Linked DNA regions of Homo sapiens: regions 1, 3, 4, 5, 6 and 7 are each linked to region 2. The links are contacts of gene promoters, found by promoter capture Hi-C in blood cells and fetal thymus (Javierre and others, 2016). All regions are on one chromosome and are shown on one strand. Each heading gives the region's core, a stretch centred on a gene start or on the middle of the fragment in contact. The rest is flanking DNA. Distances are from core to core; before and after follow the strand shown. Region 1 holds the start of LOC124902380 (a long non-coding RNA gene). Region 2 holds the start of SUV39H2 (SUV39H2 histone lysine methyltransferase). Region 3 overlaps NMT2 (N-myristoyltransferase 2). Region 4 overlaps FAM107B (family with sequence similarity 107 member B). Region 5 overlaps FAM107B (family with sequence similarity 107 member B). Region 6 overlaps FAM107B (family with sequence similarity 107 member B). Region 7 overlaps FAM107B (family with sequence similarity 107 member B).

Evidence for each region. Contacts are between HindIII fragments. The CHiCAGO score rates a contact against its expected background, and 5 or more counts as called.
Region 1: a fragment that was not itself captured here is called in contact with the fragment with the promoter of SUV39H2 in region 2 in 11 of 17 cell types (naive B cells, M2 macrophages, monocytes and 8 more); the score reaches 9.3 in naive B cells.
Region 3: a contact is called between a fragment that was not itself captured here and the fragment with the promoter of SUV39H2 in region 2, in 1 of 17 cell types (fetal thymus). The highest score is 6.0, in fetal thymus.
Region 4: a contact is called between a fragment that was not itself captured here and the fragment with the promoter of SUV39H2 in region 2, in 7 of 17 cell types (monocytes, neutrophils, megakaryocytes and 4 more). The highest score is 12.6, in monocytes.
Region 5: a fragment that was not itself captured here is called in contact with the fragment with the promoter of SUV39H2 in region 2 in 16 of 17 cell types (neutrophils, monocytes, M2 macrophages and 13 more); the score reaches 27.9 in neutrophils.
Region 6: a fragment that was not itself captured here is called in contact with the fragment with the promoter of SUV39H2 in region 2 in 11 of 17 cell types (neutrophils, naive B cells, monocytes and 8 more); the score reaches 12.2 in neutrophils.
Region 7: a fragment that was not itself captured here is called in contact with the fragment with the promoter of SUV39H2 in region 2 in 17 of 17 cell types (megakaryocytes, monocytes, naive B cells and 14 more); the score reaches 22.9 in megakaryocytes.

The regions. Positions count from the first base shown.
Region 1 is chr10:14,484,637-14,487,626 of GRCh38, reverse strand. It overlaps LOC124902380 (a long non-coding RNA gene), which reads right to left and starts at 357. Exons shown (of 2, transcript XR_007062062.1): 1 at 231-357. The HindIII fragment of the contact is 499 bases long and covers 1,034-1,532 here.
Region 2 is chr10:14,877,416-14,880,115 of GRCh38, reverse strand. SUV39H2 (SUV39H2 histone lysine methyltransferase) reads right to left here and starts at 1,250. Exons shown (of 6, transcript NM_001193424.2): 1 at 1,197-1,250. The coding sequence starts at 1,227. SUV39H2-DT (SUV39H2 divergent transcript) reads left to right here and starts at 1,457. Exons shown (of 1, transcript NR_186426.1): 1 at 1,457-2,700. RefSeq lists a silencer at 777-1,516. The HindIII fragment of the contact is 2,774 bases long and covers 1-2,465 here.
Region 3 is chr10:15,136,661-15,139,611 of GRCh38, reverse strand. All of the region lies in intron 2 of NMT2 (N-myristoyltransferase 2), which reads left to right. LOC107984210 (a long non-coding RNA gene) reads right to left here. Exons shown (of 2, transcript XR_007062067.1): 1 at 1-2,951. Among named protein-coding and RNA genes, the nearest start is that of NMT2, 31 kb to the left of the region's middle. The HindIII fragment of the contact is 1,584 bases long and covers 850-2,433 here.
Region 4 is chr10:14,613,163-14,615,862 of GRCh38, reverse strand. The region is part of intron 2 of FAM107B (family with sequence similarity 107 member B); the gene reads left to right. Among named protein-coding and RNA genes, the nearest start is that of FAM107B, 160 kb to the left of the region's middle. The HindIII fragment of the contact is 5,880 bases long and covers 1-2,700 here.
Region 5 is chr10:14,523,421-14,526,232 of GRCh38, reverse strand. The region is part of intron 3 of FAM107B (family with sequence similarity 107 member B); the gene reads left to right. Among named protein-coding and RNA genes, the nearest start is that of MIR1265, 88 kb to the right of the region's middle. The HindIII fragment of the contact is 9,482 bases long and covers 1-2,812 here.
Region 6 is chr10:14,594,525-14,597,285 of GRCh38, reverse strand. All of the region lies in intron 2 of FAM107B (family with sequence similarity 107 member B), which reads left to right. Among named protein-coding and RNA genes, the nearest start is that of MIR1265, 160 kb to the right of the region's middle. RefSeq lists enhancers at 756-1,256, 1,257-1,757. The HindIII fragment of the contact is 2,303 bases long and covers 293-2,595 here.
Region 7 is chr10:14,543,302-14,546,147 of GRCh38, reverse strand. The region is part of intron 2 of FAM107B (family with sequence similarity 107 member B); the gene reads left to right. Among named protein-coding and RNA genes, the nearest start is that of MIR1265, 110 kb to the right of the region's middle. The HindIII fragment of the contact is 2,236 bases long and covers 182-2,417 here.

The DNA of each region.
Region 1 (2,990 bases), core at 34-2,533, 390 kb after region 2:
ACCACAATTCCGTGTTTCCTTATAAACAACCAGTCATGTTTTGACACTGTAAGAAAAGAAGATACCCGCAAGAGGGTGAAGCTTTGTCATGTCTTACTACTGAGCTATGTTTGCAAAAGGACTGCCTATCACATGCAAAGGTTTTCAAGGCATGAGAAGTCTCTTAAAATCTCCAAATTAGTAAAAAAAAAAAAAATTGGTGAGGTGTTGAGGTAAGAGGCAGGACTCACCTCCAGAGGTGGAGCTCGGACACCAGATCAGATTGAGGACTAGCTGAAACAGGGCCAGGATGAAAGCAGCATTCAATCAGACCCACCCACCAGTGTACCAGGTCAATTTACTGTTGCCATGGCAACACTCGGGAGGTACTGCCTCTTTCCACGGCACCCAACCATCCAAAAGTTACTACCCCTCCCGTGCATAAACCACTCCTTAATCTGCATGCAGCTAAACGTGTGTATAAATATGGCTGCAAAATTGCCCTGCCCTGAGCTGCTACTCTCTGCCTACTGGGTAGCCCTGCTCTGCGGGGGCAGTCACAGAGTTGTAACGCTAAGACTGTTTTCTTTTACTTTTGGCTTGCCCTTGAATTCTTTCCTGGGCAAAGCCAAGAAGCCTTGTGGGCTAAGCTCCATGATGGGGCTCAGCTGCCCCGCATCAGTGTGACCTAATGTCAAGGCCATGACTCAGTTAGCCGCCCTTCTCTTTTGTTGACATAAAACGTAATAGTGTGCGTCAACATTCATGTCTTACATGAAATATGATGTGTTGTGTGTTAGAAATATTATGGAGGAGGTGAAACGGGGAGCACTGTGGGGAGGAGGATGCAATTTTAAGTGATGTGGCCGTGGTAGTGCTCACTGAGAAGGTGATGTTTGAGCGAAGACCTAGAGGGGTCCAGGGAATGAGCTATGTTTCCTTCTAGAATAGAATATTTCGGGAAAAACAACAGCAACAACCAACCAAACAAAGAAATTCCACAAACAAATTATGTAAGGGTATACTTTAGCCAAATACAAAATAATTTAAAGCTTTTATGGGGAGGGAAGCTCCATGAAGACAGAGGTTTTGTCAGTTTGTAACTATAGATTTTCACGCAGGGCACGCACCAGGCACTCAGTCGATGTTTGTGGAATAAACGAATAAACTTTTAAAAGGGAAATAAATGCTACATTATATAGTGAGCAATAAAACCATTAACACATTTAAATGTAGTTGATAGTATAGTTTGTGAGGTTTAACACATTTTCAAAATATTTGAAAGAATAAGCAGTATATGTCATTAGGGAATTGTAAATTCAAAAAATGAAATACTATTACGCACCTATTGAAATGGTCAGAATCCAAAACACTAACACCAAATGCTGGCGAAGATTTGGAACAACAGCAATTCTCACTCATTCTGGAGGAATGCAAAAATGGCACAACCACTTAGGAAGACAGTTTGGCAGTTTCTTACAAAATGAAACATACTCTTACTATGTGATCCAGCGTTCACGCTCCTTGGTATTTACCCAAAGGAATTGAAAGCTTATGTCCACACAAAAACCAATGCACAGATGTTTCTGGCAACTTTCTTCATAATTGACAAAATTTGCAAGCAACCAGGATGTTCTTCCATAGATGAATGGATAAACCGTGGTATGTCCAGACGATGGGATATTATTCAGTGATGAAAAGAAAAGGTGCTATCAAGCCAACAAAGGCATGGTGGAACCTCAAATGTATATTACTAAGTGAAAAAGCCAATCTGAAAAGGCTACATACATACTGTGTGATTCCATCTATACGACATTCAGGAAAAGGCAAAACTATAGAAGATAGTAAATAGATCAGCGGTTGCCAGGGGTTGGGGAAAAAGAAGGATAAATAGGTGGAACATAGACGATTTGGGGGCAGCGAAACTGTTTTGTAAGATGCTATAAGGGTGGATACATGTCATGATATATTTGTCAAAAGTCATAGAATGTACAACATCAAGAGTGATCCCTAATGTAACCTATGGACTTTGGATGATAATGATGTATTAACGTAGGTTCATTGAGGATAACAAATGTACCATTTTGGTGCAGGATGTTGATGATGAAGAAAGCTGTGTATATGTGGGGATGGGGGGGTATATGGGAACTTTCTCTGCTTTCTGCTCAAGTTTACTGTGTTCCTAAAACTGCTAAAAAGCATAAAGTCTATTAGAAGATAAAAAGGGTATACGGTGCAAAATAAAAGAAGCCCTATAATAATAATTATAATCTTGGAACTAAATTCAAGGAGCCATCAAAAGGAGGGGGCTACAAAAGGTTGCAAACACCTCATCTTGTTAGACTTGTTGAAAGGGGGATTATACGTATTATTTAATTATTAATGATGCAAAAATATTTTGTTGAATTAAGTTAGCTAAAAATGTAGTAAAATTCTAGTAAAATAGAAATAGGATGTAGAACTTCAAAATGAATATGGAAAAGAACAATGAAAAATGTAATGAACCCCATATATGTTAGGAAAGGAAAAGAAAAACACGAAGAAAATACAAATAGAAAACATAAATGGAGTTGGCACCATTCAAGCTACCAGGACAAAGACAGATTCTCCTACTGAATGACAGGGCAGTTCTGGGTCTGCTGAGGGAGCAGGAGAAGGCTGCAGGTGGCTTCCCGTAGGACCGTGTGGCCTGGGGACAGACTGGTGGCTGGTGTTTGTGTGCCTAGGGTGCAGGCAGGGGTTCCTTTGGGGACAAACTCCCTTTTACCCAAGGCAGCTTGGAGGGCAGTCGGCTGCTTCCTGGATGGGGGTCTCAGGAAGGTCACAAAAGCTGGTTCATCCCCATCCCATCCATCTACTTGAGATCTTCTGGATGTGGTTAGGGGTAGGAAATAGGGAAGAAGTGGTCAAAGTCAAATAAAGTATAGAGATGAATCTCTACATTTAGGACATTTTATTGGGGAAGCAAAAATTGCAATTTGGGGCATACATGCATACCAGGTGGTCTTTGG
Region 2 (2,700 bases), core at 1-2,500:
AGTCCCTTCCATCTACAAAAACTAGAGAACGTTTTGTGTTAAGCTGACCTCATTAAGGGAATCACGTATAAAGGAGGTTCCTCTTATCTACTCAAGGTGTGTTTGTGTGCTTTTCCTAAACATTTTTATCTAGTTGAGGATTCAAAACACAACCCGCAAAGGAAATGCTCTTTGAAAATTAAAAAAAAAAAAAAAGTGAACATGAAAAACTGCAAACACGTGGTTAAAAAAAGAAAGACAATCTCTCGACAGTCTCCAGTAATGCAGAAAAAGATTTCACTGACAAAATTAAATAGTTCATGACCACCACAAACACCTTCCGCTGGTTCACAGTAACCCCTGACATTCTCCAAGGAGAAAAATTCAGGGATAATGAGGTCATAATCCCAGCGGAGAGGAGACGAGCTTGAAAACACCTTTACATTCCGGAACGCACGGAAAAGTTCCAGGCTCTCAAAGCGTGCGCGACACCAACACCCCCCGACGCCCACACCCACGCGCGCTCGGTGCCCAGTTCCCCGGTGCCCAATTCCCCAGCGTCCACAGAAATAACACCAAGCTCCCGGTGGGTGAAAGAGTTACCGTAAGCCAGAGGCTGCAACCTCAAATACCCACTTTCTGGGCGATTCTCCAACGAGGCACTCAACCTCCTAGCGTGTCCGCCTTGGGGGGGATTCCTCGCTTATCCCCTTTCTTAGCACACAGGCGCCCCGATTTACTCTCCCCCTCTGATATTAAGGTCATGTTCACGCCGGCGGGCGTCGCTTCCCGCCTCCCACTTCAAAGGCCCGGGCGCATGCCGCACGCCGCGCTCGAACCACCACAAAGGAGCCAGTCGCAGCCGTGCCCCCCGGACCTCCAACCGGGGACTGCCGGGGAGCGGCCTCGAAGCCCGAGGCCGCCACGGGAGACGCGGAGGGGGCCGGGCCGAGCGGGCGGAGAGGCCACGCTCCACTTCCGAAGTGCCCCAGGCTCGGACAGTGCCCACCTCCGCGGCGGGAGCCGGCCGGGCAGGGAGGCGGGTCAGCGGCCTGGGGGAGGATAGGCGTCCGCAGCGTGCGTCCCGGAGTTGGGGTCGCGGCGGGCGGGGAACCGCCACGTCGCCATCTGGCTGGCCCGCGGGACGGCCCCGCCGCCCGGGCCTTGGGAGCTTGCCTGGGAACAGGGAAGGCGAGGGGGCCGCGCTCCAGCCTCACCTCCTCGCGCCTCGGCCCCGACCGCCGCCATCTTGTAGAGCTTTCATTCAAACTGGCGCGGTCTGACGGGATAGCTCAGCTGGCCCGACGCCCCGCCCCTGGCCGGCCCGCGCGGGACTTGGGGGCCGGGGCTTGTTGGGGGACGGAACCCGCACGGCGTCCTGACGTCACTGGCGGCCGACCCCCCGCCGCGGCGGCCAGCGCGCCTGCGCCCCAAAGCTAGGCCCGGCCCCAAGCGCGAGGAGCGGGGCGGGGCGAGCGCGCGTGCTCCCGGATCCTCGGCAGTGTCCGGCGCCCCCTTCCCTTCGCCAGGCCCGTTTGGCGCCTTCACTCGGGAAGACGTCGGCCAGGACTTTGCGCTTTGGAGACGTCTTACTTCGGCAGCACTCGCACACTGCGAGATCCGACACGGGCAGCGGGGACCTAGGGAGCCGGGGACGCTGCCTGTCGGGTACGGTTCCGCAGCTACCGCAGCCCCGTGGGCCATGGTTAGTCTCCCCCCGACACCGCTCCCTCTAGAGCTCCGGGCTTCGGAAGCGGCTGCACGTGGGCATGGCTGGAGAGGTTCCGCTGGCTTGGGGCAGTCGCCGGGATTCCGACTGGTTGGTGTGGGGTGTGGCCTGTGCTATCCAGCTCCCAGCTGATCCTAATGTGCGGCACAGCGGAAACCACCGGTCCACATCAGTGCTTCTCACTTAAAGGGGCTTACGAATCGTCGGGGGTGGGGGAGCTGGACTTGGAATTTTTTAAGAGATGAGGTCTCACTCTGTCACCCAGGCTGGAGTGCAGTGGCGCGATTACGGCTCACTGCAGACTAGACCTCCTGGGCTCAACTTTAATGTAAATTGGGATTGGGTAGGTCTGTAAGGGGACCCGAGCTCCCCTCCCATGTTGTTGCCAAGCTCCTGAGCTCGGCCTGGTGGCGGGTGGGGGCCGGGAGGAGAAGGACACGTTAGTAAGGAAGCTGCAGGACGACTCCAGGGGCCTCCCACCTGGTCTCCACCCCCCTCCCCCACCCATTCTTGACGCTGCATCCATGATTGTTCTAAACAACCTAAAGCAGAAATCTTAGAGCAAATAACGAAAACTGGCAGAAGGCCATTTGATATCTCCTTAAAAAATTCATGTAAAAAATTACATAAACGTTTCAAAGCAGTATGTATAAATTTGAAATACTGGAAATGAACGCAGACCATTAAAGGAATAGTTAATTATTTGATTCCATTATGAAATACTGTCTAGCCGTCTTAAAAAGGTGTTCATGAAGCTTTTAGTATTCAGCAAAACCAAAACAAATCCCCCTGAAATATAGTTTTAACTATGGAAGAAAAAAATGTATAGGAAAATAACGAAATAGCCTTTTCGGAGTGATTTTCTTTTTAACTTCTCGTTTTTAAATATTTAATCATTTTCTACGATGGGAAACACCACTTCCTCACACACACTCATGCTCCCAGACTTTATTTAGCTACAAACGGCATCATAATACAAATACTGTTCTGCA
Region 3 (2,951 bases), core at 392-2,891, 260 kb before region 2:
AGATACAGCTTTCCAAGGTAACTCATAGAGGATACCACCATAAGCTTGCAAAACACTCTTCCCGTTTCTAAATGTCGCTTCATCAGATAAACGTGGCATCCCTGACCTGCAGCGTGGACATCTCCTGTTGCTTTCAGCATCACCATTGGTCTCTGCCCATCCCTTCCACCTCTAGTGACTGTGAGCCTTTCCCCTCTCTCTGGTCACTTATGAGAAACTAGAGCCAAGCCAGGCAGTGGCGAACTCTTGGCATTATATGGTAGGTGTATTGGTCAGGGTTCTCTAGAGGGACAGAACTAATGGGATGGATGGATGGATAGATAGATAGATAGATAGATAGATAGATAGATAGATAGATAGAGGGGAGTTTATTAAGTATTAATTCACATGATCATAAGGTCCCACAATAGGCCATCTGCAGTCTGAGGAGCAAGGAGAGCCAGTCTGAGTTCCAAAACTGAAGAACTTGGAGCCTGATGTTCGAGGGCAGGAAGCATCCAGTATGGGAGAAAGATGGAGGCTGGGAGGCTAGGCCAGTCTCTCTTTTCACATTTTTCTGCCTGCTTGTATCCTAGCTGCACTGGCAGCTGATTAGATTGTGCCCACCCAGATTAAGGGTGGGTCTGCATTTCCCAGCCCACTGACTCAAACGTTAATCTCCTTTGGCAACACCCTCACAGACACACCCAGGACCAATACTTTGTATCCTTCAATCCAATCAAGTTGACACTCAGTAGTAACCATCACAGTAGGGAATTTCTTTTCTTAATTTGGAGGAAGTCAGTATTGTCTTAAGATGGGCTTTTTTCTGCTGCATTTTTAAAATCTGGGGCTCTTTCCCTTTAAGCTTATGCCAACTCTAGATAGCACTGTAAATTACAGTGGACTGCATTGCAGAATATTCTGGTCTACATACAAGAACCAAAATAAAAATGATATTTGGATTCTTATAAACTTCTTAGTGTTATAAAACTTGGACATTTTTTCCAAGGTACTATTAAATTTGGAAAACAATGGGTAAAGAGTATAGTTGCTGGTTAGTATGCCACAGAAAGCATGTGTGGAAGAAAAAGAGAATATACCTGCCTCTTATATAGGAGTGGAATCGTGGGAAGTTAATGTCGGGTAGATATTCATCTCACCTTGCCTGATGCACACTCATTCTTCCCAGGTAGTGCTACTATGGAAGGTGAATGGACAGGCATGAGAAATGATCATAGCTGAGTTTCCCTTACTGCTTTGTCCCTGTGGATTTGGAAATTGTGTTTATTTGAATCTACTTTCAGAAAGCATTTAAATAGAGCCGTATGTGGTTGTTCATGCCTGTAATCACCACATTTTGGGAGGCCAAGGCGGGCAGATCACTTGATGTCAGGAGTTCAAGACCAGGCTGGCCGACATGGTGAAACCCTGTCTCTACTAAAAATACAAAAATTAGCCAGGCGTGGTGGCACAAGCCTGTAATCCCAGCTACTCAGGAAACTGAGGCAGGAGAATCACTTGAACCCAGGAGGCGGAGGTCACAGTGAGCCATGATCATGCCATTGCATTCCAGCCTGGGCGACAGAGTGAGACTCTGCCTCAAAATGAAAAAAAAAAAAAAAAAAGAAGAAGAAGAAGAAAGAAAGCATTTAAATAGTGAACATTGGGATATCAATGTTTCGCAAAGGGACATTTCATGTAGAGGTGTGCTGGTCAACCCATGAGCTAATTAGGTAGGGAATAAATCACTCTGAAGTCTTCTTCATGGAGTTGGTCATTTTGGTCATTGGGTCATGTGGAACAAAGATGCTGATTCATGTCTGTTGCAAAATAGTTTGAGTTTGATATATTACTGTTAGAAGATTTAACTCAGAAACCAGGAAAGAAATCAAGGAACAAAAAATTAAATCAAGAAAGAAAAAGTACCATGACAAATTCATTATAGTCATTGTAGTTCTATTTTTATAAGACTGGGCTCTACTTTGCCATTTTAAGCTAAACTGATGCACAGTTAAGCATTATTAGTTGAAATATGCTGTGATCTCAATTCCTATTTAAATTGTAAGGTCTTCTAATAGATGGTGTTGTTGGAGTTCAGATACACATGAATTTCATTTTGCTAGAAATTTGCTCCTTTTAATGTTGGGGACTTAAAAGACACCCAAGGAAAAGAAGTCATCCAAAGATATAATAATGAGAACCGGAAAAGTATTTTGTTAAATTTGTATGTGTCATTAAGATAGGACCTTTATGATTTTGATGTTAAACAAATGTAAGATAAACAGCTTACAAAAACTGTGGCCATCTTGGATTGTGCTGTGAGACTTCCAAGCAGAGACAAAAAGACTTTCACCTGCCTCCAGCTGGACTTCAGAACTTCGTTTCCTTAGGGTTCTTGACAGTGTTTGTATGAAACAAACCCTGTTCTGTGCTGTGTACGATGAGTAAGCTTCCCAAGTTAAAATTATTGCTCCACACCACAGATTTCAGATTCCAAGTGGAACAGAAGTCCAAAGTTGCTGTTTATAAACTTCTAAGGGTCGATTGTACCTTTCAATGGTGTCCACCCTGTGTTGACATACAGCAAAACCGAAGGGCTCTTGAAACTTCTAACCACTTTCTGAATTACAGCGAAGAATATTCTTTGCATGGTATCAAAGTTCTACAATGTCTCAGTAATTTTACATATTGAAAAAAGTCATTGATTTCCATATTCAGTCCTCTGCGCTGTCTTCTCATTTCAAGTAGTCTCATGTTCCATGTATTATTACGTTATTTGAGGAATTAAAAAAAAAAAAAAAAGAACTGGGGAATCTCCAAGAGCTGGCGGGAATATTGGCTTTGAGAAAGGAACCTTAGAATTCAAACGTAATGTTTTACCTAAAAAGGAGTCCAGTTTCCAACACTTGGGCTGGGAACGACAGGCTATGGTTGCCCAGGATCTGAAGTACAGAGGAAATTGCTTGTCC
Region 4 (2,700 bases), core at 33-2,532, 260 kb after region 2:
GCCTGCCTTCAAAGTTGACAAGGTAATTAGGGAACACATACAAAAAATTATTGCTTAGGACAAATAAGAAGTTTGTTAGCTTCTCGAGTATGGAATGGTGCTTTTTATTTAACTTACTCTGTTCCCAAATCTAGCTCACTCCTTTCCACACAGAGATACTTAATAAGTAATTTATAAATGCTCAGTGCTATTAAAAAATTAAATAAGCACTTGGTCTAGGTTATAAAAGTTAAGGAAGGCCTTGTGGCAGACCTAAGATTTGAACAGAAACTTAATGCATGGGCAAAACTTGGATCTGCTAACAGAGGGGAGGAAGAGCATTTCTGCCAGAGGGAACATCATGAATGAAGATTGGGAGGTGGAAGTGGGTGTATTTATGCCTCACAGGAAACTTGGCTAGAGTAGAGTTCACTTCAGCAAGGCCTAGGCTTAATGTCCAGAAGACCAAAAGATATCCATTAATTCTCTCCCTACAAGATCGTTCCTATCAGCTTATAGAAAATTATTTGTTTCTGCCTTTTTTTTTGTTTTTTTGAGATGGTGTCTCACTTTGTCACCCAGGCTGGAGTGCAGTGGCATGATCTCAGCTCACTGCAACCTTCACCTCCCAGGTTCAAGTGGTCCTCCTGCCTCAGCCTCCCAAGTAGCTGGGACTACAGGCACATGCCACCATGCCCAGCTAATTTTTGTATTTTTAGTAGAGATGAGTTTTCACTATATTGGACAGGCTGGTCTCGAACTCCTGACCTCAAGTGATCCACCCACCTCGGCCTCCCAAAGTGCTAGGATTACAGATGTGAACCACCACACCCAGCAGTTTCTGCCATTTTTAAAAACAAGCAAAACAGTGAAACAAAACCTTTCTTGGCCCTGGATTCCCCTCCGTCTACTACCCTTGACAAAGCTGCCTATACTAGCTGCCTCCAATTCCTCTTTTCCCATTATGTCTTGAAGCCACTCCAGCCAGGTCTTCACCCCTGCTGCTCCCCGAGTGATTCTTGGGTTGGTAAACAGTCCCTGTCTCGTGTAACCTGGTAGCAGCGTTTCACAAAGGTGCCCATCACATCCTCTCCTGCTTGAAACCCTGGTCTCACTTGGTTTCCAGGTTTCATTCATAGCTCCCTTGGGTCCCATTCACTTTCACTGGCCATTCCTTCTCTAAGTCTCTTTTTTTTTTTTTTTTTTTGAGACAGAGTCTCGCTTGCTGTGTCACCCAGGCTGGAGTGCAATGGCACGATCTTGGTTCACTGCAACCTCTGCCTCCTGGGTTCAAGCAATTCTCCTGTCTCAGTCTCCCGAGTAGCTGGGATTACAGGCATGCGCCACCATGCCTGGCTAATTTTTGTATTTTTAGTAGAGACTGGGTTTCACCATGTTGGTCAGGCTGATCTTGAACCCCTAACCTCAGGTGATCCACCTCCCTCAGCCTCCCAAAGTGCTGGGATTACAGGCGTGAGACACTGCACCTGACTCCTTCTCTGTCTCTTTTGCCAGTTCCCAGCAGCTCCCCGACCACTAAATGCCAGAGCGCCCTGGGCACAGGCCTCAGTTTCTCCCTTGGTGGTGAATGCAGGCTCCTGGCTTTCAGTATCACACACACACTGATGGCTTCTGATCGTGCTCAGAGCCTCTAAGAGCCCACAGGACCTCATGTGATCTGTGAACCTCCCAGGACAACGACTGTTTAGGGGGAAAGAAAGAAGCAAGTTCAAATTGTATTTATTTATTTATTGAGATGGAGTCTCACTCTGACGCCCAGGCTGGAATGCAGTGGCGCGATCTTGGCTCACTGCAACCTCTGCCTCCCACGTTCAAGCGATTCTTCTGTATCAGCCTCCCGAGTAGCTGGGACTACAGGCGCCCGCCAACACTCCTGACTAATTTTTGTATTTTTAGTAGAGATAGGGTTTCACCATGTTGCCCAGGCTGGTCTCGAACTGCTGACCTCAAGTGATCTGCCCTCCTCGGCCTCCCAAAGTGCTTGGATTACAGGTGTGAGCCACTGCCCCCAGCTGACTTTGAATTTTAATAAAAGAAAAGCCAGTCGTCCAGCTTTGAGGGAAAAGCGTTGTATAATTTGTTTTACTAGATTAGCCTAGCTGATGTGGCCTGTTTGTGAGATGACTTGAGTCATAGTGTATGCTTGTGTGGGGCAGACGGAAGGAAAGCAGTATTAGTGGATATGCACTCTGAGGATTGTGTGTCTGTGGGCCAGGCAGAATTTGATAGAGATGGAGAGAAAAATGTAGATTTGAGAGAAATGACAGAGAAAGCAATGTCTTGGTTTTGTCGCCAAAGTAGATGTAGGGCGTAAGTGAGGAAATTAAGATTATCTTGAAGTTTGTGCAGTGAAAAAACTGTCAGGTTAGTAAGGAGGCATGGGGTAAGTAAGGAAGTTCTGAGTAAGAAGAGAAGTTCTGCTTTTCATTAGTCACATGGATAAACTGTCTTTTAAAAGATTATGAATCTCTCCAAATCAAGCTAAGAATGGTCATGAGCAAATCATTCTTAAAATCAATTTCCGTACCACTAGGTTTCTATTGTTCTATGATAACATTTCAATTGCCAATTCAATTCATTGAAAGTTTATGGGCTCGGTGAGGTGGCTCACACCTGTAATCCTAGCACTTTGGGAGGCCAAGGCAGGCAGATCACTTGAGGTCAGGAGTTCGAGACCAGCCTGGCCAACGTGGTGAAACC
Region 5 (2,812 bases), core at 98-2,597, 350 kb after region 2:
CACTGCACTCCAGCATGGGCAATAGAGCGAGACTCTGTCCCCCCGGAAAAAAAGAACAAGGGCTAAATTCAAATCAAATTTTCCCTGTACCCTAAGAAAAATAATTAGGCCGGGAGATGTTTGACTAAGTGAGTAGGCATTGTTCTGTGACGGTCTGAGCCCCAGACCTTTCCTCTGGATGAATGCTGTCCCAGGTAATGAAATGACTTCACTTATTAATATATAGGTACACAGAGTTCAGGTAGATGTGGAATGAATGGGGACTCGCCCCGTCTGCCCTTGAATGTATTTAGTGGTTTATGTGAAATGTACCTTTCAAAGTTGTCTGTATGTTTCATACTCTGGGGGTGGGAATATAAATCATTGCAGCCTTTTTGTAGGGCACTTTGGCAGTACTCATCAAAATATGCGATGTGCAGATGCTTAGCCAGCAACTCCGCTTCTATGAATCTAGCCAACAGAAATACTTGTAGAAGTGTGCAGCTATAAATGTCCACAGAGGCTCAGAGCCTCATTGTTTTTAATAGTGAACAGTTGGAAACCAAATAGATGTCTGTCAGTAGGGATGTGGCAGAATTGTGGCATGTTTATATGGGTATAGAAAGTATGGAGGAACATAGACCCAACTGTTGGTAAGAGTTATCTCTGGATGCAGGAATAGGTAGGGGTTGATGGGTACAGGGTCTCTACTTTGCATAATTTTGGGGCCACTGTTCACATAGAACATTTGCGATGGAGTGGTGCTCCTCGATTCGTTTAATGGAGAGGGTTTGGATGTGCTTTTGCTTTTTATTTAACACATGGGTATATTACTTTTCTTTTTCTGCAAAGAGCACTTATTAATTTTATAGTTTTTTAAATTGGCTTTGCCCGCTTCAGTAGTCACAGGTAGCTACCTGACCGAGAAGCCGACTTGGGAATTACTGTTACTCGTGGGTGATACTGTCATAAAGGGGTTGAAAGTACTTGTTAGCTGTATATGTCAGAATTGATTAAAGAGAACCAACTATTCTTGTGCAAGGGATGGTATTGTAGTTAATTATGACATTTGGAGAAACTAATTTCTGTCTGTCGACACTATCTCTGTTCCATTTAGACTTAGAGACTTACATGGGCAATGCTTGACTTTTTGCATTCAGCACAGAAAGTTAAGTAATCCACTGTGGTAAAATATTAACTAAATTTATATGACTTCTTGACTGCTGTAAGTAGAGAATATTTATCATATAAGCACCATTTTCCTGAATTTTTTGTTACTACATATTTTATCTTACTGTCACTATTGTGTAAAATCTTTGAAAGGAAAATGAATACTGTGTAATAGTTAAACCCATTCATAGGTTGCAATAGAGTGTCAGCCAAATGTGTCATACATCAAATCTTCAGCAGCTTTTGCATAATCCAGGAGAATTGAATAATAGTTGAAGTTAATTTTGCCAGTGAAATGTAGGGAAAGAAAAATGTTTGAAATTTAAATTATTCAGATAGCTAAATTCTTAATCCTAAAATTTAAACCCCTTAATTCTGTCTGTAGTGTTATATCAAGACTTTTTGATAGTCATGAAACTGAGTAAAACTTTATTCAGATTACTTAAAAACAGCTTTTCCTGTGGTTAATAACACCTTTATTTTGAACAGAGTACTCTTAAGCAACTTATATTGTGCTGATTAAAGATTTAATCTGTGCATATTTTTTATCCTGTTGTTTATTTAGTTTTGATAACTGTGAAATAAACCATAATTAAATCACAAAAGTCACCTGCCTCTTTTGTTTCCCTGGAAATTTGGCCAAATTTTTTTTAACGGAAAGTTCTGCTAATGAAAATTGGGAAATTGGAGACATATATTATTTTGACTGTGTGTCCTCTGTCATTAAAGATGGACTATACTAGCTGGGTGTGGTTGCTGATGCCTATAATCCCACCACTTTGGGAGGCCAAGGCAGGTAGACGGCTTGAGCTCAGGAGTTCGAGACCAGCCTGGCCAACATGGTGAAACCCCGTCTCTACTAAAAATACAAAAAATTATCCGGTCGTGGTTGCGGGCACCTGTAATCCCAGCTCCTCGGGAGGCTGAGGGAGGAGAATCGCTTGAACCTGGGAGGAGGAAGTTGCAGTGAGCCGAGATTGTGCCATTGCACTCCATCCTGGGCAACAAGAGGAAAACTGTATCTCAAAAACGAAAAAAAAAAAAAAAAATAGAGCTGGGCGTGGTGGCATGTGCCTGTGGTCCCAGCTACTCAGGAGGCTGAGGTGGGAGGATCGCTGGGGCCCAGGAGGCAGAGGTTTCAGTGAGCTGAGATCATGCCGCTGCACTCCAGCCCGGGCAACAGAGAGAGCCTGTCTCAGAAAAAAAAAAAAAAAAAGATGGAATATACCGATTTTTACTCTAAACAACAACTTTGAATTAAGTTTTTGTGATTTTTAAAAACATCTAGATAGGAGAGATGCCAGAATTTTTAGAAATTCTAGATGAATGAGGAAGTATGCAATTGAGGATTGGTTTACAGATGTGATTGTGTGGACTTTAAAGGGATCAAGGTGAGTGTGCTGTTGAATTTCTCTGGCCGGAGCACATATATTGGAAATTGTTATTTAACAGTTGCTCAGATGACTCCTAGTTGGTTAGTCACGGTAGTTGATAGGAGTCGTTTAGAGAACAACCCTGTCCCTTGTCTACAGATTAGCAGTCATCAGCAGCCGGACCAGGAGGTGTGTGGGAGGTGCTCAGGCCCATCCTGGAGTCCGGGACAGAGTCAGCAGTGCTTGTTGCCTGCAGTTCAGAAAAGCCTGAATTACTGTTCCACCACATG
Region 6 (2,761 bases), core at 195-2,694, 280 kb after region 2:
CTTATGAAATCTTGCAGTATAAATAATCACAGGTGGTTTGTGAGTGTTTAATGTAGATGTATCAAAATTCCCATGTCCTGGAGGAAGTTGAGAATGCCATTTGTGCATATGCGTATGTAGAGGGGGCTTCATAATATTCTTTCCCTTGTAACTTGATTCTATTTGAAACACATAAAACTGGTCAGGGTTCTTTTTCATTTTTTCTTTTTTTAGTGGATGTGCAGGGTAAAGTAGTGTATCGGAAAGAGAGAGGCCTAGACTTGAAAGATTTTCAGACTTTTAAGCCTAAGCTTGCCATGAATGAGTATATGACTTTTGAGCATGTCATTATTTCTGTTTCCCAGCGTCGTCTTCTATAAAATGGAAATAGTCACACTCACCTACTTCTTAGAGTTGTCTTAGGGTGAGATAGAAGCCTGCATTCTTTATGCCTGCTTGTCCTTCTAGGGAATGCTCTGGAATTGGAACAGCATGTGGGCCACCCCTTAGGATAGGTGACTCTTAGAAGGTGAGAGGAGGCAGGGCGTCGGGTGTGCAAGAGAATCAGCTACATCATCTTTCAGGTTCCTGCTGCGGTGGGTGAATTCTGTTATTCTGTGCCCATGGAATGGGAGGTGTCATAGAAGTCATAGACATCAGACGTAGAGTTTGACCTGAGTGAGTCAGTTGCCCTCTTGGGGTTTGCATATTCTTACCTGTGAAATGCAGTAATAATACTGGTAATATTATTATTATCATCAATGAACAGTTTTTAATCATCTTATATGTGACCAGGCATGGTGTCAAGTTCTTTATGACATTTCTTCATTCATTCAGCAACTATTTAATGAATGCTGCCATATGCCAGTCATCGTTCCAGGCTCTGGGGATCAGTGGGATCACGGGCTAGCATGGTGGCTGGGACAGACAGACTCCCTGCCTGCATGGAGTTTATATGCTAGTGCATGACAGAAGGTAAACAGATACATGGATGAGGTGATTCCCATGGTCAGTGCTGTAAAGACAACTAAGTCAGTTCAGGGGGCTGGAGTCTGGTGGGAGAGCAGGTTGTGTTTTTATTAGGATGAGGCTCCTCCGAGGAGGAGAATTTGAGATCTGAGTGAGGCAAGGGGATGAGCCTCGCAGAAACAAGTGCAAATATCAGCCCAGTGGCTGGCAGGAGCTTGCTATGGAAGGAATGGCCAGAGGGCCTGTGTGGGAGGAGCCAGCGGCCAGGGCAGGAAGAGAGCTGTGCAGTGGGGTCCAAGGAGGTCTGGCAGGCCACGGTGAGGACGTGGCTCATGAGGAAGCCACAGGAGAGTTCTGAGCAGGGCGTGCAGGAGATGGACCTTGTATTTTGTCAGTGTGTCCCTGTGGTTGTGGAGGGCCACGGGGACTGCAGAGGGCCAGGAATAGAAGCAGGGAGACCAGCCGGGGTGCCGCTGGTGAGATGGATTGGAGTTGATACAAGAGAGAAAGGCATTGTGGGTGACACCTGCTCTTTTGGCCTCAGCCTTTGGGTGAAAGATGGTGCCATTGATTGATATGGGGAGACTGGTGGAGGATGAGCTTTATGATGTTCACATCAGCCTCTGGACTTAGTGTTGTTTTATTCCCATTTTACAGATGTGGAGACCAAGGGGGAGAGAAGTAAAAAGTTTGCCCTAGGACCTGGCCAACAAGGTGAAACCTGTCTCTACTAAAATTATAAAAATTAGCCAGGCGTGGTGGTGCACGCCTGTGGTCCCAGCTACTTGGGAGGCTGATGCAGGAGAATCGCTCGAACTCAGGAGGCGGAGGTTGCAGTGAGCTGAGCTCGAACCACTGTACTCCAGCCTGGGTGACAGAGCAAGACTCCCTCTCAAAAAAAAAAAAAAAAAAAAAGGTTGCCCTAGGAAGAAGCTGAGCCAGAATTAGGATCCAAGTCTGATCTATGCCCAAGTCTTGCGTTTTCAATCATTTTTGCTGGACTCTGTACATATCTGCATTTACTCTCATTGCGAGATTGATACGAAAGTACCTGCAGAAATGCTTGGGAGATGTATCTGTTTTGTTGTTAGCATAGCTTTATTGCGGTATAATTTATATTCCATACAATTCACCCATTATATGTACACAGTTGTGTAATTTTTAGTAACTTTATAAGGGTGGGCAGCCTCCCCCCAGTCCAGTTTTTAGACTTTGCAGTCAGTTCCCCCTCCCACCCCCAGTCTTAGTTAATCAGTGATCTTTTCTCTTGTCTGTAGCGTTTTGCCTTTGTACAGGTAGAATCACAGTGTGGCCTCTCTCTTGGGTCTGGTTTTGTTCATGTAGCATAGTGTTTCTGAAGTCCATCCATTGTTGCCTAAGACATCTGCTTTTAAGGAACCTTCTTAGAGTTTGTCATCTATCATAAGAGATACCCTGTGCTGATGAGAAAAAGGTCCACTGAGATGTGCCTTAAGATGAGAATAAAAATAACAGTGGCCAGCATTTCCCGAGCATTTGTTATATGCCAGGCACAGTTATGGCCATTATTTTCTGTGATTTCTAGAAATCAGTTGTAGAGGCACCAACCAATGCAGTTCCATGAGAGGTGCCATGATCAGTGTTTTTCAACAAGGGAGGTTAAAAGCTTGCTCGGGGTTTTAAGAGCTGGGATCAGACTTGGGCCTTCTTCTCATGGAGCTGTGTCTTTACTGCTTCTTCACACGCCCTTCACCATGTGTTTGAGGCTTGTGTCTTCGTAGCCTCACAAAGAGATTGGGATTCCAGTTGGAGAATGCATTTGCCAGTTTTGTTT
Region 7 (2,846 bases), core at 50-2,549, 330 kb after region 2:
ACCTGGTCTCTGTGTTCCTTCTAAAGTTTCTGTCATTAAGTCTGTTTGAAGATAGTCTCTTCTTTTGAAAGTATTAGTTTGTTTGGCCAGTTGGGCCAGGTCATAAATATTACGGAATTATTAGTCAGCTCTTGAAGACAGGAATGTTTGAGGGCTTTGAAAGCTAGCCCAGCAGGAAGCTTTTCGTGGTCTGTGTATTTTCCTTCCTCTCAGGAATGATTAGGCCGAAATCAACCATCTTCTCAGTCCATCCTCTTTGTAGTTTCCTGAGATGAATGACCGAGGTGTTTTCTCCTCAGAAAATAACATAGGAGAAAAATTCCAAGGGAGGTCTCTTTATTCAGGAACTTGCAATTTAGGAATTAAGTGTGATAACTTTATTTTACCAATTTTAATTTTGTGACTATAACATAATATAAATAAGGATTCTGTTACATGCAAATTTTGAAATCATGCAAAAACCAAAAAAGGAAAAGAAGTCAATCAAAACTTGTATAATTTCAAAGATGGTGGCCAGGTGGTTTGGAAGCTGTGCATGGGATTGCCACATGGCCTCTCCCCTCTAGCAGGCAACAGGTGCCTTGTGTGTTTAGTCAGTATCTGCTGCATGTCATTGCTGATGGCATTCAAGTTTTTGCTTATGTGTGCTGGTATTTAATGTTCACTTAGATCTAAATATCTTTTTTTAGCCTTCAAAGATGTCAACCAGGTATTCATCAAGAGATATATTAATGGGGATGTTAGTGATAGAGCCCAGGACACCCCCAGCCCCCAGATCAATAGCTTTGTAACAGAAGCGCTAAACCACTATGAAGGTGATCAGACAACAGGGGGATGCATCCTGCCATTAATTTAGCAGAAAGAGCACACGTCCAAATAGGAGAGTTAAAATAGAGAGGTGCTGTAGCAAAGTGGCTCAGAGCATGGACTCTGGAGCTAGCTGCATGATGCTGCTAGCTGCCATTTAATTAGCCTTGTAGATTTAGGCAAGTCACCTAGTCTCGCTGGGCCTTAATTTCCCTATCTGTATGATGGAATAAATTTAATGTCTACTGCAAAGGTTATGTGACACTTAGCAAACATGATAAAACACAGGTTGCCGGGCCCACCCCCCAGAGACTGACTCACTGCATCTCCGATATTTGCATTTAACTAATTCCATGATGGTGCCGATGCCTCGGACCCTGGGATGACACTTTGAGGATCACCATGCTGTGCATTTGTACACACAGACACACACGTAGGCATTTGTTTTCCAAAGTAAAGGGCATACTGTTTGGAGCCTAATGTTTTTCTCCTATTTAGTGCCTTGTGAATATTTTCCCTTTCATTATTTATTCTAATAATGGATGATTTTAAGCTGCACTGTATTCCATTATTAGATATTTAAATGGCTTCCATTTTTTCCGCTATCATAGACCATGCCGGAATAAATATCATTCTGTGTACACTTGTCTACATCTCTGTTGATGTCTTTAGGGTAAATTCCTAAAAGTGGAATTACTGCGTTCAAGGGTGTTTCACGGTAAGGCCTTTTGCTACACATTGCCAACAAATTCTTCAGAGAGTAGCAGAAATTTGTCTTCTTACAAGTAGTCTATGAGAGTAGATGCTGATTTTCTAAATGTAAGGGAATAAGAAAAACTTCATGATTAACTTTTTTCACGTGTATTTGGGCTTTGGTGGGAGTAGGCAAGAAGAATATCCGTGGATTTATAGAGTAAGCAAAAGTATGTCAGGAAAAACTAGGAAGAATAGGGCTGAACTGTGGCTTGATTTCAGGAGAGTTTCTGGGATTCAGACTTGAATTAACTGAATGATGCTGTAATGTATAAGTGTTGGTATAGGTGATTTTATGCAAAGAAGAATAAACATTGGCTTACTTTTATTTATCGTATACGGTATGGGTGACTACTGCTGCTAGTTCAAGGGTCTTGATTTTTTAAAAATGTGTTTCTTGACTGTGGTAGCTGGGAGCCCCAGGATACAGACTTTTGGTTAAATAACATCTGCTCCACTCTGCCTTCCCGTGTGGGCCTCTCTAACCCTGGGCCAAGCAGTTGAGTCTCTCCTCGGGGTGCCTGGAGTGAGGGTGGATACAGCTTGGGTAATTCAGCATCTGTACCTAAAAACTTACTCAATGTAGGCTTCATGTAAAGAAGTCAGTGGTTCTTGGGAACAGGGGTGAGTGAATGGAGGCGAAAGGTGGGGCCCTCCACAGGTCAGTCAGGCCCTCAGGGTGGGACAAGAGCTGTAGGGCTCTTGGTTATAAACCTGTGTGGTGGAGACCAGCAGGTGAGCCAAACTCTTCTTTATTATCAGAACATTTCACTAATAAGGGATCTCAAGGGTCATCTGGCACAGCCTTCTCTTTTTGCAGATAAGGAAGCTAAATAATTTATTATTTCAGTTAAGCTTCACCATATGAGAGTTTTTGGTTTTTTTTTTTTTTTTTTAAAGTTTTTAGGATCAGATAGTGAACCTTGGAACAGAATTGGCTGCTTTTTGTTTCTTTTTTCTGGAAGTGCTGAACTTTAGAGAATTGTGGCTGCATGGTAGACAGGCAAAACAGGAAGGACACAGTGCAGCTGAGAGCGAGGGTGGCCTGTGGTCTCTCGTTTGGCCTGGAGAACGGGCTGATTTCAACTCCTCCTGCACTGCTCCTGAGTCACGGGTCCTACACCACCGTGCCTCTCTCCCGAGCTCAGGAGGCCGAGCTCAGGACTGCATGCTCCTTCCTGAGTGGTCTCCAAAGGCTTCAGAGTGGCCTTGGATGAAGAGCTGCTCACTTCTGTGCCAGTCATGTTTTTTAGAATTTACGTACTAGTTTTCTTCTTGCAATTCAA